Linked DNA regions of Homo sapiens: region 1 is linked to region 2. Evidence: promoter capture Hi-C in 16 types of primary human blood cells and fetal thymus (Javierre and others, 2016). All regions are on one chromosome and are shown on one strand. Each heading gives the region's core, a stretch centred on a gene start or on the middle of the fragment in contact. The rest is flanking DNA. Distances are from core to core; before and after follow the strand shown.

Region 1 (3,562 bases), core at 910-3,409, 100 kb before region 2:
CAGCTAATTTTTATATTTTTAGAGATGGCGTTTCACCATGTTGGCCAGGCTGGTCTCGAATGCCTGACCTCAAGTAAGTCACCTGCCTCAGCCTCCCAAAGTGCTGGGATTACAGGCGTGAGCCACTGTGCCTGGGCCCGTTTTATTCCTGTGTTTGATTTACTATCATTGTGGCCAGAAAAACATACTTTGTGTTATTTCAATCCTTTTAAATGTATTGAGACTTTGTAAATGGTCTGGTATGTGGTTTGTATGTGTTGAAAATAATGCGTAGTCTGCTGTTGTTGGCTAAAGTGCTCTGGGGGTGTCAGTTAGGTCAAGTTGGTTCATATGATTGTTTAAGTTTTCTAGTGGCTATGGCTCGCCTCTCTGAATTCCAATCCCCTCCTCACCTTTCAGCCATTTTTTTTTTCTTGCTCAGCCGTTTGCCTTTTTAGCTGTTTTCAGCAGGATATTTGGCCTAAATTATCAAATCAGAAATTTCTGGAACCTATATTTCAACTTTTAATATAAAATTGTCTATTTCTAACAATTGGAATTAGACTAAGTGCCATTTCCAATAATGTGTGACAAACCCGTAACACAAAGTTTTAGTGGTGAAAGAGAATAGGCATTTAAATTCCTAGCAAAGTTCCCAAATGTGGCAGTTTCTTCCTTATTTCTAAAGCAATTTAAACTACAGTGTTTCTAATATATATCACCATAATTCTGTATATACAGGGCTTTTGATTTTCAGGCAAAAAAAAATTACTGGATAGACAAGGGTCATGAAATAAATATTATAAAGATATCAAAGTTCAATTAACCTGGTTAATATATCAAAAGTTGTCATAACCTCAAGGAGAAATTGACAAAGCCTCCATCCTAGGGAAAAAGTTTAACATGTCTCTCAGTAATTGATAGCTCAGCAGAAAAAATAATAATATATAATTTGAATAATACAACAAACAAGCTTGATCTAAGGAAAACACATATATCTCTGAGCCTCCAACAATTGAACAACTCACATTCTTTTCAAACACATACAAAATATTTATGACAACTGACAACATATTGGACAATTAAAGAATAATAATAAATTGAAATGATTTTTTACTTAATGTAACTTAACTACAAAATTAAATTAGAAATCAATATTTTAAAATTTAGCTAAAATATATTTTTGAAATTTAAAAATCATACCTCTAAATAAATCACAGGTCAAAAAAACATTGAAAATTAGAAAATTCTGGTCACCAAGATGGCAGAATAGAAGGTAACCTGCTCACATCTCCCCACAACAACAAGAATTCTGCGCCTATCCAGAATCAAAAGTCTCTCTGCCTCAGGATTCAGATAGGAGTTTGTGAAATATTGGTGGAGCCCAAGATCTTGGAGGATTATTTTGAGAGTGCAGACTAACACCAGTTGGCTGATCCACCAATCTTGTTCCTGGGTTCAAGCCCAGAAATGGCCCAGTCCCCCAAGGGGCTTTGGCTACCGTACTGTTTGACTTTGAACCTGCAACCAAAACCATCTGTTAAAGGATCCAGAAGGAATTGTGTACCCTAGTGCCTTGGTGGAAAGGCATCTGCCTCGTCACCTCCATCTTAGAAGTAAACCTCAAAGTTGCCTTGTGGCTCAGCTCCAGTCCCCATCACTCCCATGTAGGTCCTAGCTCAGAGTTGCTCACACAAGAACCCAGAGGGAGACTCACTCATACCTCAATCCCAGGAGTCTGAGCCTCCCTGACAGGCTTGCCAATCTTATCCCACAACAGATCCTGAGGGGAACCAGTCTCAGCTCCAGCCCCTCCCACTGCAATCAGAGAACTATCTCATCTGTTCCAAGATCTGCTGGGAGATGCTCACCTATCTGGGCCAACATAATGGGCTCTCCAGCCTTTGTCCCACAGCAGATTCCAAGGGGACCCAGTCTCAACTCCAGCTCCTCTTGCTGCAGTAAGGAACCCATTCCACCTATGCAAAGACCTGCTAGGAGTCACACCCATCTGAGCCTACGGTACAGTCTTCTAGACTCAGATCTGCGAGGAGGCACACCCATCTGAGCCTACAGTACAGTCTTCTAGACCCAGGTCCCTGGCTAGCATTCCCACACAGCCCCAGTATATCCATTCCTTGGGTCTTCCCCAGGTCCATCTGGGACTCAAAACCTCAAAGTCCTCATGAGACTCACAGCAAGCCTGGGCATAGAGCATCTTCCAGTGCTGAGATGGGTACAGTGGTCACAGGCTCAGGGAACTCAATAGTGGGCTTAGAATCCCTGGAAGGCCCTCTGAAGAAAGGCAGGCACAAATGAGGCCAGACTGTGAAGACTAAAATAAATCTTCAGTCCCTAAATGCACAGACATTGTTGCACATCCACAAGCTCAAAAACATTCAAGGAAATATGACCTAACCAAACAGAGAAAACAAGGTGCCAGAGGCAGACCAAAGTGACGGAGATGTTTAATGTCTCAGATGAAGAATTCCAGGCTGGGCGCAGTGGCTCACACCTGTAACCCCAGTACTTTGGGAGGCCGAGGTGGGCAGATCACGAGGTCAGGAGATCGAGACCATCCTAGCCAACATGGTGAAACCCCATCTCTACTAAAAATACAAAAATTGGCCGGGTGTGGTGGTGCACGTCTGTAGTCCCAGCTACTCGGGAGGCTGAGGCAGAAGAATCACTTGAACCCAGGAGGCGGGGGCTGCAGTGAGCCGAGATAGCCCCACTATACTCCATGCACTCCAGCCTGGGTGACAGAGGTGAGACTCTTGTCTCAAAAAAAAAAAAAAAAAAAAGAATTCCAAATAGCTGTTCTAAATAGCTCAACAAACTTTAGGAAAACACATAGGATTAATTCAGAAATGTACCAGCAAATTTAACAGAAAGATTAAAACAAAAATTTTTTTAAATGTGAAATCAGCCAGGCACAGTGGCTCATGCCTGAAATCCCAGCACTTTGGGAGGCCAAGGCTGGTGGATCACTTGCGGTCAGGAGTTCAAGACCAACGTGGATAACATGGTGAAACTCTGTCTCTACTAAATACATGAATATTAGCCAGGCATGGTGGCGCACACCTATAATCCCAGCTACTCAGGCGGCAGAGGCAGGAGAATCGCTTCAACTCAGGAGGTGCAGGTTGCAATGAACCAAGATCATGCCATTGGATTCCAGCCTGGGCAACAGAGCAAGACTCCATCTCAAAAAAGAAAAAAATAGTGAAATCCTGGAGTTGAAAAATACTATGAAAATTTCAATAGAGAACATCAACAGCAGAACTGATCAAACATAGGAAAGAATCAGTGAGCTCAAAGACAGACTATTTGAAAATACATGGAAGAGAGAAAGAAAACATAATGAAAAGGAATAAAGAAAGCTTAGGGGATCTATAAGACAACATCAAACCAGCAAATATTCAGATTATTGGACTTAAAGAGGGAACTGAGGAAGAAATATAGGTAGAAAGCTTATTTAAAGAAATAATAATAGAAAACTTTCCAAACTTGGAGAAAGATACAAATATCCAGGTACAGGAAGACCAAAGGTTAGCAATCAGATTCAACCCAAATAAGAATT
Region 2 (3,650 bases), core at 669-3,168:
GGCCACCCCCTCCCAGTCTCCTTACTTCTGCTCAGACCTGCATGTTGGGGTTCCTGGGGCTCCAGCCTCACTGTCTGTCCACACTCTCAGCCCCAGGGAACTCCTGCGTCCCACGGCTTTAAACGCCTCCGTGGCGATCCCACCTCAGCTTTCTCTCCCGCCCTGGCCTCTTCCCTCAGTTCCAGGCTCATGAACCACGAAGCCTCCACTTTCCTGCCCAAACCCGAACTCTTGGCTTCTGCCCTCCTTGACCTGCTCAGCTGTGTCTCTGGTCCTCATATTCTCAGGGAATGCCCCAGCAGCTATGCCATCCTCCACCCCTCCAAGAGCCAAATCTCCATCAGGTCTAAAATCCTGCCACCCCCCTCCCCTTCTCCTCCAGCCCCCTGCTCACAGGTGTGCATGCCTCCCTCCTACACGGCGAGGACCCCCTGCCAGTCCCCCAGCTGCTGCCCCCGCTTCCTGATGGTCTGTCCTCCAGACAGGGGCAGTGGCTGCCTTGGTCATGCCAAGCAGGAGGCTGCTGTGTGCTGGGAGCTGTCAGGCTCGTCCTGAACAGGGAAGGGCCCATCCACCTCCCAAACCCAGTTTATGCAGTCCTTCGCAATGTCAGGCTCAGGGCCTGGCACCAGCCAAGCTCCCCACCCTTCCCACTGTTAAAATGGATAGGAGCAGGGCTAGGCCCAGCCTGTTGACTCTGGGCTTCCACCAGGAGAAGTGGTTCTGGCAGTAGAAACTATCGGGGCCTGGGAGAGGCGGGGGAAGAGAGAAAGGTGGCATGTTTCTTGCTTGCTCCCTCTACCAGCCTTGTCCAAATCCCCGCAGCCACCCTAATCCAGCCTGTCTAATGGAGCCCAAGCCGGCTCAGGCCCTCGGACGAGGAGCCTGCTAATCCCTGTGGCTAGGAGCTCACCACCTGTCTCCAGGACGCCCTTTGCTCTCTTGGCATCAGAGAGCCAAATCCTGGGCCTCGGATGGGGGGATGATAAAAGCATCTTTTGGCCAAGCCCCCTCACCTTGGCCTCCACGATGAGATGGGGAGTTAGGTGCAGAGAGCGTTGGCACAGTGAGCACCGCAGCTCGAGTGGCTGCCTCAGACCCAGAGCCCGAGGAGACTTTATACGGAGCCAGAACGACCCCGCGGGGTTCCATCCTCCCAAGCAATAGGCGGGAGTGGGAGCTGCGAGGAAAGCCGGCCCCTCCCCTCCCTCCATCCAAGGCAGTGTGGGCTGTTTGTTTCATGCCATTCTGGGTGTGAATCCTGATGCCCACACATGCCAGCTGCATGCACTTGGGCAACTCAACTCACTCCTCGAGGGCTGTTTCTCGACTGCAGGGTGTTGTAAGTTCGCTAATACTAAAGGCTTCTCCCTCCTGGCCCCTTCCTGCCCCTCGCTCTTCCTCCTCTTCCTTAGGCCCTCCCAGCTCAGGCAGCCCCTGCCCCCTGCAGGGTTCTGCAAGGAGAAAGCTGGGGAATACCTTAGGCAACTGCAGTCAGGAGCACTGGTGGCCAGGACAGAGACAGAGAGACAGAAAAGGGGTCAGGGACAGAGAGAGATAACCGCAGGGAGAGACAGGAAGGGACAGAGACAGAAAAGATTTCCAAGAAGAGGACAGAGGCAGAAAGCCAGGGACAGAGACTGAGAAACAGAGACCTAGAGGCAGAAGAAGACTGAGATAGAGATGGACAGAGATTGTGTCAGACACAGCCCCAGAGACAGCCAGACAGTCTGAGTCAGACGCAAACCAAAGACAAGAAAACAGGAAAACAGACCCAGAGATTGGGAGAGGGAGGGGAAGGAGATGCGGGGAGAGCCAGCACCGCCACCCCCCACACTCAGGAGGGGTCTCCACCCTCGGAGCGGTCTCTCATCCCTCCCTAGAATCCTTAAATCCTCTCTCGCTCAGGGCCTCGGCCGCATCTGTCACAGACTTGTCCTGAACCGACAGCGGCTGGCGCAGGTGACTGGCTTGGGGCGGGAGCCTGGGTGTGCGCTGGGGATGGACCCCGAGGAAGAGGGGCCAAGCTGTCGGGAAGCGGCAGGGCTGGAGGGGTGGAGGCAGTGGTCGGGCGGGACCCCGGGCGACAGGGTTCGGCGCTTGTAAGAGCGAGACGGAGGCCCGGGCAGGCCGGCTGAGCTAACTCCCCAGAGCCGAAGTGGAAGGCGCGCCCCGAGCGCCTTCTCCCCAGGACCCCGGTGTCCCTCCCCGCGCCCCGAGCCCGCGCTCTCCTTCCCCCGCCCTCAGAGCGCTCCCCGCCCCTCTGTCTCCCCGCAGCCCGCTAGACGAGCCGATGGCGCGGCCCCGGAGAGCCCGGGAGCCGCTGCTCGTGGCGCTGCTGCCGCTGGCGTGGCTGGCGCAGGCGGGCCTGGCGCGCGCGGCGGGCTCTGTGCGCCTGGCGGGCGGCCTGACGCTGGGCGGCCTGTTCCCGGTGCACGCGCGGGGCGCGGCGGGCCGGGCGTGCGGGCAGCTGAAGAAGGAGCAGGGCGTGCACCGGCTGGAGGCCATGCTGTACGCGCTGGACCGCGTCAACGCCGACCCCGAGCTGCTGCCCGGCGTGCGCCTGGGCGCGCGGCTGCTGGACACCTGCTCGCGGGACACCTACGCGCTGGAGCAGGCGCTGAGCTTCGTGCAGGCGCTGATCCGCGGCCGCGGCGACGGCGACGAGGTGGGCGTGCGCTGCCCGGGAGGCGTCCCTCCGCTGCGCCCCGCGCCCCCCGAGCGCGTCGTGGCCGTCGTGGGCGCCTCGGCCAGCTCCGTCTCCATCATGGTCGCCAACGTGCTGCGCCTGTTTGCGGTGAGGGCCGCGGGGCCGGGCTCGGTGTCCAGCGTCCCTCTCCCGTCCTCGCCCTGGGGTGGCCCAAGTCTCCTTCCTTTACTTCTTCTGAAAGAGTCTCCGTTTTAATCACTCGAATTCACACAGCGTCAAAGAAGCCCTGTCAGTTGAGCCCGACGCAGGCCTGAATCGGCTCCACCCAAACACTCCAGCCGCCCATGTCTACCCCGCCCCGCGAGGGCGCCCCTTCCCGGGCGGGTGCCACCTACGCCTCTGGCCGGTTGGCTGGGGAGGGCGGCCTGACTTCAGCCCCCATTTGCCAGCCTGCTCGGGTGCCCTTGTTCTGGGCACACCCCTGCAACCATACAAGGTGCTCCTGCCCCCTGGGCCTGCGGAGCGCTCGAGTGATATTGCAACTTTGAGTTTTGTTTGGAACCCGGGCCCTTCTTCCAGAGCAGCAACTGGGGCGTGTCCCTGGGCTGCTATGGGGGATGGATAGGCCTGAAAGGTCTGGTCTTTCTCTTTTTTGATCATTTAAATTTATTTTCAAAATGCCTTGAACTCTCCCTCAAGGGGCATCTGAGAGCAGGGCGGGGCGTTCCCTTCTGAGCTCTGGTCTCCTGCACCCTGCCCTGCGCAGGTGCCCGGGCTGGCCCTGCTCTGTCCTCAAATGTAGGGAACTGTCCCGTGAGGGGCAGCGTGTTCCTTGCAGTCCTAGGGGCCAGCAGAATCGGGATTAGGAGGGCTTTGGCATACAAGTTTGGGGGTTTTCGATTTGGTCATTCACTGGGGGTTGTGGGACAGTTTTTCTGGGGTTCTGTGGCGGGAGGGGCCTGTGTGCATCCGGCTCTCTGTGAAGGAGGAAGGCCTGGCT

The links. The method cuts DNA at HindIII sites, captures the fragments that hold promoters and counts their contacts. A CHiCAGO score of 5 or more calls a contact.
Region 1: a contact is called between a fragment that was not itself captured here and the fragment with the promoter of GRM6 in region 2, in 3 of 17 cell types (megakaryocytes, total CD8 T cells and neutrophils). The highest score is 5.8, in megakaryocytes.

What each region holds. Positions count from the first base shown.
Region 1 is chr5:179,094,869-179,098,430 of GRCh38, reverse strand. No RefSeq gene overlaps it. Among named protein-coding and RNA genes, the nearest start is that of ZNF354C, 36 kb to the right of the region's middle. The HindIII fragment of the contact is 2,410 bases long and covers 955-3,364 here.
Region 2 is chr5:178,993,588-178,997,237 of GRCh38, reverse strand. It overlaps GRM6 (glutamate metabotropic receptor 6), which reads left to right and starts at 1,918. Exons shown (of 11, transcript NM_000843.4): 1 at 1,918-1,962; 2 at 2,278-2,797. The coding sequence starts at 2,294. The HindIII fragment of the contact is 9,329 bases long and covers 1-3,650 here.